Regions from separate parts of the Homo sapiens genome. Here all the other regions are linked to region 1. The links are contacts of gene promoters, found by promoter capture Hi-C in blood cells and fetal thymus (Javierre and others, 2016). All regions are on one chromosome and are shown on one strand. Each heading gives the region's core, a stretch centred on a gene start or on the middle of the fragment in contact. The rest is flanking DNA. Distances are from core to core; before and after follow the strand shown.

What was found. Contacts are between HindIII fragments. The CHiCAGO score rates a contact against its expected background, and 5 or more counts as called.
Region 2: a contact is called between a fragment that was not itself captured here and the fragment with the promoter of SLC24A3-AS1 in region 1, in 1 of 17 cell types (M2 macrophages). The highest score is 5.7, in M2 macrophages.
Region 3: a fragment that was not itself captured here is called in contact with the fragment with the promoter of SLC24A3-AS1 in region 1 in 4 of 17 cell types (megakaryocytes, M0 macrophages, M2 macrophages and 1 more); the score reaches 8.5 in megakaryocytes.

Annotation. Positions count from the first base shown.
Region 1 is chr20:19,283,084-19,286,618 of GRCh38, reverse strand. It overlaps SLC24A3-AS1 (SLC24A3 antisense RNA 1), which reads left to right and starts at 2,023. Exons shown (of 8, transcript NR_024564.1): 1 at 2,023-2,474; 2 at 3,404-3,480. The region is part of intron 2 of SLC24A3 (solute carrier family 24 member 3); the gene reads right to left. The HindIII fragment of the contact is 4,681 bases long and covers 1-3,333 here.
Region 2 is chr20:19,605,975-19,609,509 of GRCh38, reverse strand. All of the region lies in intron 6 of SLC24A3 (solute carrier family 24 member 3), which reads right to left. Among named protein-coding and RNA genes, the nearest start is that of RIN2, 150 kb to the left of the region's middle. The HindIII fragment of the contact is 4,367 bases long and covers 1-3,535 here.
Region 3 is chr20:19,583,854-19,587,388 of GRCh38, reverse strand. It overlaps SLC24A3 (solute carrier family 24 member 3), which reads right to left. Exons shown (of 17, transcript NM_020689.4): 5 at 2,334-2,418; 6 at 1,845-1,948. Among named protein-coding and RNA genes, the nearest start is that of RIN2, 170 kb to the left of the region's middle. The HindIII fragment of the contact is 3,137 bases long and covers 200-3,336 here.

The DNA of each region.
Region 1 (3,535 bases), core at 774-3,273:
GTGTTGGGTGGCCCTATGTTACTTCTGACAAGCCCTCTGACCTTGGGCGGTTGTTTATCCCCTCTGGTTCTTGTTTTTTTCATGTAAAAGATGACAATGTTGGCCCTATCATGCTTTGTAGACTGGTCATGTCCAGCCCTCTGATTTTAAACCAGCCCACTCTGATGTCACAGTTTAAACCCCAAACAGTGGGATCCTGACACTGTTCATGGCCAGTACCCTGAACGCATGTTTTCTGCTTGCTGGTCTGTGCCTGGACTCCAGTTCTTGTTTATGGACCACAGGCACCCCTTGAACCTCCCCTCCTGTTGCTTCTCTCATATAGACTTCCCGGTTTCCCTCGTCAACTGCAGCTCACATTTAACTGTTAACTGTGGGCTTCGGGCCAGTCAATAGCTGACCTGTAGGCACTCCTGGCCATCCCCATAGGGCAGTGCCCTGCCAGCCTGACTTTGGTCTTGAAACACAGGCCAAGCATCCTCTTCACTTTTCGAGGCCTTAGGCCCAGCTAAGCCAGACAGAGTGGGATGATCCTTTATCAAGGGAAATCCAGTGATCTCACAGTGAAGCCCACACCAAAGGCCATCATTTTAAATATTTTCCTTCTTCCAAAGTTTATTTGGAAAAAGCACTCTGAGGAAAAGCTCATTTCCTTAAAATATCAAGGAACCAAAAACCAAAAGATGATATATTTTTCTGGAGACACACTGCAAAGTGTATAAATAAAATTCTGTAAAGTGCACAAATAAATATTACAAAGAATTCATTTCTGCTACAGTTGTCTACCATCTTCAATATTACATTTAGCTAACTTAATTTTCCATGGATCAAATTATTCAAAGTTAAATTTCTCTTAATAGGTCATCTGAGTAAACAATTTCAAGTGTTACTTGCCAAAAGAAAAAAAAAAAAATGTTTCCAGGCTTCAGATGAAGTCGGCAGTGTCAGGCTAAGAAAACAACCTTAAAAATTCACAGAGAGCTGGAACAATTGCAAAGAAAAGTTGGAGCCCGGAGGTCAGTCAGTCTTGTTCATGCAGTTCTGAAGGTAGAAAAAAAAAAAAAAATCACAAATTTCTACCAAAACTAGGTCTTCAAGGGGCAAAGGAAAAATGCCTTTTTTTTTTTTTTTTTTTTTTTTTGAGACAGGGTCTCATTCTGTCACCCAGGCTGGAGTGCAGTGGAGTGATCTCAGCTCACTGCAACCTCCATCTCCCAGGCTCAGTTGATCCTTCCACCTCAGCCCCCCAAGTAGCTGGGACCACAGACTCACACCACCACGACTGGCTAACTTTTGTACATTTTATAGAGATGGGGTTTCACCATGTTGCCCAGGCTGGTCCCGAACTCCTGGCCTCAAGTAATCCACCCGCCTTGGGCTCCCAAAGTGCTGGGATTATAGGCGTGAGTCACCGCGCCCAGTGCCATTTTTTTGAAAGCAGAAAATGTATAAAGTAATATATCCTTAAAGTAGCAGCTGTCATCAGAAGACAGCACCCTGGGCTTTCTCTGGCACCAAAACTGGGCACTCTGTGCTCCTGGTTTTCAGACAGAGAGAAAGGGAGAAGGCAGGGCAGAGGGAAGGGGAGGAGGGGAGAGGGAGTAGAGGAAGGCTTGAGGTATGGCATGGAATTCTGCAAACACAGCAGTTATTAAGGGAAATGGGAGAGTGTCAAGGGGAAGAAGTTTTCTTGAATTTCTATTCTTGAAATTTCTTGGAATAAATGGATGTGTGCAAGGGAAGGGATAAATGTAGTTGAAGATCTATTTTGTAGGTGAGGAAATGGTAATCTGAGAGGCAAACCAGAATCATGCCCCAACAGGGAATATAACCAGAATAGAGGTAACTCTGTCTCCAGTCTCTGAATCTACAGGCTTCCTCTAATAGCATCTAAAGCCAGGGCTTCTGACAGCACAGTCTGAGAAGCCCCATGACATCACAAGTGGCAGCTGGGTGTACTTTATGACAAATGCCAAATTAACTCCTGCCTGTGACCTTGCCACCATAACTCAGACAGCCAGGACACACACTGCACCCCAAACACTCAAGTCCCTGTGTAAATCTTCACTCCTCCAAGCACAGAGGGAAGCCTGCTCCGTAGGCTCTGTTAAGTGTACTGCTGCCGCTGACATCATCATAAATAGGAAGGGAGAGAGTCCAGGAACCACAGGGCTCACTTCCTAGCCTCTCTATTTAAGATTTTCGAGGGCAGATGGCACTATATTTAACCAGCACAAGTAGTATTCATTGTGCCCAGGGCCTCTTAAGGAAAACTGAACAAAGTTTTAGAATGAACCTGCCCTCACCTCACTCCTGCTCAACCATTTCACCCAACAACAAGTTAGAGGCAGAGAAGATGAATATTATTAAAATGATGCTTCTAAATCAGGACCTTATGGGTGCTTTGGCTCTCAACTTTTTTCATAAAATATCTGTCCAGTCCAGACCGAGGAGCCAGCTTCGACAGCATTCTGGTAAGGGCATGGAGGTAACCAGGGCTCACATGTGTCTGTGGCAATGTTCTGATCCTGTTGTTAGAAATAGTCAATGCAGCAGAGATGATGGCATTCATTGCCAAGCCTGAGGTCTTCAGGGCTTGCCTACATGGGAAGATGGTACTGAAGCCTCCTGTCTAGATGACGGTCTGTTTAGACCTGAGCTACCTGCGGTGTGGCCTGCTGACAGACTCGCTCTGCAGGGAGTAGCTGGAGAATGTTGCTCTAGGAATCTTGCACTGTGCCCCACCCGTAATGATGCCCCAGGACAGAGGGTGGGAAATTCACGAATACACTCCTACTACAGTGCCATCAAACCCAGGGCACTAAGCTGTCCACACTTTATTAGTAATTCTCACAGCAATCATGAAAGATCAGAATGATGATGTCAACTTCTAGAGAAGCACACAGAGACTCTGAGAACCTGGCTATTTGGCCAAAGTCCACAGCTTCAGGTCAGTGTGACTCTAAGACCCGGGGTAGAGATAAGGCCCTCAGATTTACATATTTGCTCTACACCCTTGAGATGTTTGCAATTGGGCTGGAAAGACAGGAGATACATCCAAAGACAACTGCAAGTTCTGACCACCCTGTCCAATAGCTCTTTCTGTGATGATGGAAATGTTTTGGGACCTGTGCTGTCATCTGTGATCCAACTATCGAGTATTTGACATGTAGTTGGTGCAACTGAGAATCTGAATATTTAATTTTAGTTGGTTTGAATTCACTTGAATTGAAATTGCCATTGAATGTCCATATTTAACAGCACATGTGGAGACATTTTATACCAGCAGCAGTCAGAAAAGAATGCTGCAGTCTGGGGTGGTCCAAGCAAGCTTCATGAAGCACGTGGGCTCTGACCCAGCCCTTGATGTGTTAGGATTTGAACAGAACTTCTCCTGTTTCAGGCATGATCATCTTCCTTGTGGAATTTGGTTCTGAATCAAGGGCCTCAGAAACCAAGCCCGGTTCTTTTGGTCTGCAGGTAAGGAAATCAAGATTGTCCCTCCTGGATCCATATTCCCTTTGGACCTGCTTTT
Region 2 (3,535 bases), core at 359-2,858, 320 kb before region 1:
GACAGGTTGATAGCAGCAAACCACCATGGTACATGTATACCTATATAACAAAAGCCTGCACAGTCTGCACATGTATCCTGGAACTTAAAGTAAAATTAAAAAATAAATAAATACATACATAAAAATAAATACTAAAAAATTAAGATTTCTCTATTGTGGTAGGACAGAAATAAAAGTCTTTATAACTGAAAAAAAAAAATCAGGTTATAAGAGCAACCATGTCCTGCCACCAAGTTAATTGTTCCTTGGTGTAATTTCCCCATAAAATGGTAGAAGAACATAAGATAATAACCCCCTCCTTCGTATTTCATTTTCCTGCATGGTCATAAAGAGAGTTTGGGGAAAAACATTCAAGAGTTTCATCAAGTTTTCCAAGTCTCCATCCTGATCCTTTAATATTAGTATCATTTTCTTTGGGGGGATAGAGAACCTGGGTTGTCATCCTTGACTTTTTTTCTTCCTCAATTGCAGGAGCCTCCTTCATTAATGCCTTTGTACGTGGGATGGAGACATCATTCAACACGTCTGCCTCATGAAACCCTCTATCTCTGCCAGATTTTCAGTTTCAGTTTGCAGTCAGTTTGTATTTTTATGGGAATGTTACAATTTCCAACAAATGGCCAAAAATTGGCTTATGTAATGAATGGGGAGAGATGCTATTGTTAAGCAGGAAAAAAAGTAGGAGGGGGCCTAGGTTTTTAAAGCGGTCAGATCATTAGTGAATATTGTGTGTTTTGACAAGTTTGCTTTCCTATGCAACCTGCCAACAGCAGTGATTCAGATAATGAATGCTGAACTTAGATCAACGAAGAACCTCTGCCTCCATTATACATTACACCCTCCTTTTTGACAACTTAAAAAACATATTATTATTCTTTTTAAAAGCCTTATTGTGACACGGTCATTCTATAGAAACAACCAAAGCATACATGAAAAATGGAGCAAGTATTGCTAATCTGCAAAGAAAAGTTATTTACCTAGTTATGCTTCTCATAGAACTGTGTGTCCTAAATGAGAAGACACCAGCAAATGGTACAGATATTAAAGGACTGACTTTAACTCATGTTGTAGAATGATGCATTGGGATCTTGAAGTCTGTACAATCCATTTGGTAATCATTTACCAACCAGTAACTTCACATTTCTTGTGGTCTTTAATATGTATTTAAATCTTATGTTGCTAATTAACAGTCATCTGTGTATGTATTTTTCTATACACTCTTACTCCATATCATCATCACCAAAGAAAGCAAATACCAGAACAATCAATTCAGACGAACAAGTTTAGGAGTCTATTAAAGACTATCATCGGCCCACACCAATATCAAGATAAAACCGAAAGATTGCTATGGCAGTTCAAAGAAGAGAAGATTGTGTCCACCTGGGGAAACCAGGGAAGGCTTCTTGCAGGAGGTGACACAGACTACAGATTTGAAGGACAAAAATGACTTGCACTTTTAAAATTGGGAGATGGGTTGAAGTGAACAGAGATGAAAAAGGGCATTCTGGTTAGGAAGAACAACATAAGCACAAGCACACAGGTAAGACAACAAAGGTAAGACACAACGAGCAGTTCAGTTCTGCTGTAGATATGGACAGGGGAAAGACAGCTAGACATGAGAAAGGGCTACTGGGATGTGACCAGCAAAGGGGGCCTTTCAGGCAAGAGGCAACGTCAGAGTGGAGGCTCAGGAAGCCTTATCAGTATGAAAATGAATTTGATGGAGCAGAGGATAAAGAACAGAGAGACAGGGGTGAGGGGACTTTGGCAGTCCAGTTGACCAAGAGTGGAGGTCTGGAGTGTATGGTGCAGTGGACTTGGAAAGCAAGGGGCAGGATGAGAAATGCTACAGTGGAAGAATTGATTAGATTTGACAGCAGTCTGGATGTGGACAGTCGGCCATGAAGCTGAGGCTTAAAGGCTGAGTGACAGAAACCACAAAGGTGCACCCAATGTACCAGAAGAACTCAGGTGAAATGGTACATTAATGAGCAAGTAATTTAGTTCATAGCTTAGACCCCCAATTGGAGCCTGCCTCAGAAGGCCCGGGCTGGAAAGATCTGGCACCCATTTGTAAACTAAGTCATGAGGATGGGAGAAAAATCAAGACCAAGGATGAGGAGTGGGGTGCCAGAGGAGGGGACTGATGTCATGAGATCAGATGAGACCATCCCTTTTGAAGGAGGTGTGGCCAAGAGCATCTCTGTGGGAGAAGGAATGCTACCATTTGGGGTGAGAAAAGAGGGGTTTCAGGAGGAAGAAAGCATTCCATAGAGTACAGCAGGTGGAGAGGATGCACAGTGAGATTGTTCACTGGATTGGTGTCCAGGAAAAAGAACTATGGGGAGTCTAAAGAATCAGTTTCAATTGGGGATCAGGGCAGGAGAAGGAGGCAAGTCCCATGTTATGGGTTCTCAAAGGACGTCTGTGAACTGACTCATATTTCTGGTGGCTTCCTTGAAGATAAACATCTAAACTCATTCACACGTCCAACCCTCTTCTATGCCTACATTCTCTTCCTTAATTCACAGAGGGGCCTGAGGGGCTGCAGAGGGACAAGGGTTGACAGGTGTACCAAGTGTGAGGCATGGCTTGGCCGCACACTGTCCACATATACACTGGAATGACCAAAGCAGAACAGTGGGGTTCAAGTCCTAGTTTGATAGTTCTTCACTGTGTGGACTTGCACAGGCCACACCCTGTTCTGACCACCAGTTCATTCACCTGCAAAATGAGGGATTGGACCTCCTGCTTTCTGACATCCTTCTATGCCATGGGCATTCTCCTCTGGTTCATGACCTTCCCTGGCCTTCTTCCCTCTGCATTCTCAGTCCTATAAGTCCCTGCTTTTCTCATCTCCCTCCTACATATGAGGGATTCACAAATGCTTCCTATTTATATTTATGCACAAAGAAGCGGTTACTTCCCTGAGTTTAAAAATTCACTCATCAAAGTCAGATGAATATCATTTGCAAAGCAGTCATCCAGATTCAAATTTAGTGAGAGGTTTTAGAGCTTTACTGGAGCTTAAAATCCCCTGCAAAAATTTTGTGTTTTTGCATTTCAGCACCAAACATTTTTAAACACCCTGAGCTACAAAATAAAAAATAAAATCAATACCAACTGCTATTATCTCTATGGGCACTGCCTGAGCCAATGTCAACCAGAATCATTCCTGCCATAAAAGGAGCTAATTTAAATGATATGTCATCCTTCCCCATATTGGAAGCCTCTAGCACTCAGGCAGCAGTAACTAGAACATGACAAGGCTATGCACACTGGCGAGTGGTATGTTCACATGGAACAGGCAGGCAGGCAGGTCTGCCTCACCTGCACCCCTGGGTAATTTTCAGGGAGAGGAATCTATTGAGCACAGTTTTGGGTGTGCTGCCACAGGCCCTGATGGAGAGGAAGGCTGGGAAACTGGCAGTTTGGCCAACTTTCTTTTGCTTTGCTGCTCATGCTGGCCAAATAGGAAGTCCAGCTGGGGGATATCATGAGACCAAAGCTGAGGATGTTTCTAGGCTTTTAGAAT
Region 3 (3,535 bases), core at 519-3,018, 300 kb before region 1:
TCAGGGAGCCCTTTGCCTTTGATGCAGGTGTTCCAACCAAGCTGGGATGAACCGCGTTACTAATGAGTGATGAGCCACACATGCATCCAAGCCATTTCATAAGTAATTAGTTGTGTGGCACTGACTAGATGCTCCCCAGTCATTTGTTTCATTTCTCTACATTATCTCTCTTCCTTTGGGCTTGCTTGTGAATCAAGCTTCAGGTACAAATGATGAATGAACTAATGACAACACTAATAACAGCCAGACTAATAACCATACTGCTGATGGTGACAATGCCAATTAGGAGAGTGCTAACAGCGACAGACTCTTCTGCTGGGTGCAACTGTTCATCTGTGGAAGGCCACAAGCAGGTGTCCAAGGCAAAGGAGAGCCAGGGAAGTGCAAATAGCACCAAAGGCAAAGGCAGAGACTCATTTTTTAAAAAAATACTAACTACATTTATGGGAGATTTAAAAAGCACATATTGTGGGTACACAAAATCTAAGACATGAGCTCATTGACTGAGAGGATGAGAAGAGGGAAATCATTCAGTCTAAGGAGCTGAGCAGAGCTCAGTCACCATGTACTGGGAGCCCCTTTTCCAGATAGAAGGGACCCATCCACCTGTGGGCCCTGGAGCTGAATCCCGATGAGATCCAGGTGTCCCTCTGCGTGTCACCTGAAGGCAACTGACACACCAGGCAATCCAGACAAATCAATAGGCACGAAGATGACGGAAGTAAAAATGGGCAGTGGAGAATGCAATGGTGGACCCGGGGTATCCTGCATGGAGACCCTCGAGTCTACATCAGTGGAACGGGCAGCATGGGGTGCCCCTTGCCGCTGCTGTGGGGTGAGGGCCCTGGCAAAGGGTAGGGGGAAGGCTGCCCCGGGGCTTTCCTTAGCCCCCTGACCCAATCAGCCACTTCTAGGAGAACAGTGCACTGTTCATATCAAGGCTGCTGATCAAGTGGTTAGGATCAGCAGGTTCCTTGATATTGTAAGTGGAGTAGCCTCCATGAGCTTTTAGAAGTGCCTTTTACTAGAAGATACACAAAGTTGTGGGTATTTGGGCAGAGATCTCAGGGTTGTGTTGTTTCTGAATAAAATCCCTATGAAGAAATTTAGGATATCAGAGTTGGCAAAACAGTTGCAAACCCTGCAAACAAACCTCCAGGTGCTGCTGCAGTGTAGGCTTGTCGCCCAGAGCCTCCCACGCAGTGGCTTCTGAGCACCTTCCCCAGACTTTCCAAAACAGACGCCAGTATTCATAAAGAACTCAGATAGCAGGACACCACCTGGAAGTGGCATCAACTCCATAGGTAAACTGCAGGCTTGCTAAGCCCTTCATAACCCCAAAGGCACGTTATAATAGAGAAATGAAATGCTCTACCACAGTCAAAAAAGGTTAGGCTGTGTCCTAAACCGTGATGACTGCATGTTTTGTTTAGCAGATTCTCATGTATTCTCATTGTGTTTAGCAGATTCTCATGTATTCTATTTCCAATGAGCAAAAATCATACCTAAAATTGTTTTAGGCCATTCTAGTTCAGATCAGTAACATACCAAAATGAATGTGGAACCCTTCAGATTGTAACCCACATCTTTCAGTCTGGTTAATTATTTATGTGGACCTGAGCATTCTATATTCCATCAACATGGAGACCAAGTAATGGTGGATTACCAGTTTCCACTTCTAGCTGGGCCAGCCTCCTGGGATGTGAGGTCCCAAATCACTGCTGCCCAAACCACTGGGCCCTAATGCAAGTTGTGTTCCAGCAAGACAGTCTCCTGCCTAAACTCCATGCCTCCCCTTTCCCCAATGTCACATTTTGCCATCACAAAGAAGCCGCCAGTCTTACCTGCCCAGCAAAGAGCCCACAGACACCAATGATGCACAGGATGTTGAATACCGCTGAGCCCACGATGGTGCCAACTCCCACATCGCCTTTGGTGATGAAGACCCCTGAAACACAGATCCCACATCAGCCTGGCTGTTGTGGCCCTGTTGCATTCCAAGGTGGGCATGGGGAACCTTTCATAAGCATTAGATTGTTCTCAGAATCTACAGGAAACAGCTGAGGGGTGGAGAGAGCTTTCTAATCTACAGAGGGATGATAGCTGCACAGGAGTGTGATGGGCTTGGGGTCTGGGACAAGTTCATGCACAGTAAAAGCATCACTTAAATAAAACAACAACGGCAGATGGGAGGCTGATGTTCTACTCATTGGGGTCCCTGGATTATCATTTTCTATGAGTGGCAGACAATCTCGGTCTGGGGGCCATCCATTCCCAGAGCCCTTTTCCTTCAGACAGTGAAGGTCTGAGATGTCCCTCAGTCTGTCACCTACCTATGACCGATGTGAACAGCTCTGGGGCCGAACTTCCCGCTGCCATGAATGTGGCCCCAGCCACATCTTCACTGAGGTGCAGGCGCTACAGAGGAGCAAAGACAAAGCACAGGTGAGTTGGGATTCCATCTCGGAAGAGAGGTGACTGTGACACCCGAGAGTCCAAGCCCTGAGAAGCAAAGACTGGGGCTTCAGCGAGAGTAGGACCGATGGGACCTGGGGCTGGTACTTAGTCCCTCTCAGCCTCCTTCTCCTTCTCACAGAGCGCAGCCACTGCTGCCGATCCCCTGCTGAGTCAGAGCTCCTCTCAATGTCCTCCTTAAGGGACAGGTTTGGGGAGGGAACTACATGTCCTTATGAGCTAAAGGCTCTTGGGAAGATCTAGGGGTCTTCAACCCAATTCCCGCAGGGGCTGTGCAGATGACAGTCAGGAGTGGAGTGGGCCCATGGGAGGCCACAGCAGGCGGTAGGTCTGAGGCTATGGTGGGGGCATTCACCTCTTTCTATGGGCAGCATTGCCCAGTTCCCTCAGTGTGGCCAGATATTCTGATTTTTAAGAGATGCCAATAATCCAACCTTTTATGCAAAACTTCCTGATTTTTGTGATACTATGCTGATCTCAGGCTAAATGACGCTCATGGTAACCAGTTTGTGAGTCTTTAGGAGGTTATGGAGGCATGTTGGGGTGTGGATGTGGGGATCACCCTCCTGAAACCCACTCCCCTTCCTTGAGGCATTCTGGAAACCCCGGGATCAGAGAGTGGGAGTGGGGGCTTAAGGCTGAAAAGAAGGTAATGAGGCATCAGCCCTGCCAAGACGGGGTTTATACAATGAGCTCTCCAGGTTACTCTGTTTGTTAAACCAAAAGGTGATTTACAAGAAGACAAGGCAATTATACATTAGAGGCTGGTAACCAGATTTTGCATTTCTGCATTCAGTCATGACCCAGAAAGTATGCTGCTGGCTGCCAGTGAATAGCCAGTTCCCTCCTGGCAGTCAAGCTTGAGTGACATCCTTCTCTTCCCAGTGGCACCTACAGCTGCACTTCCTTGCTCAGCCAGAGAGGGGCGGTGTGGCCCTGATGTAGGTCACTGGCCTCCATTGAGTGACCCACAATAGTCTGCAGGAGAAGCCCTAACTGAGGATTTTGATCTAGGATCCTGGGTCGCTTCGCTGTCGGCTGGACAGCGAAGCTTCACATG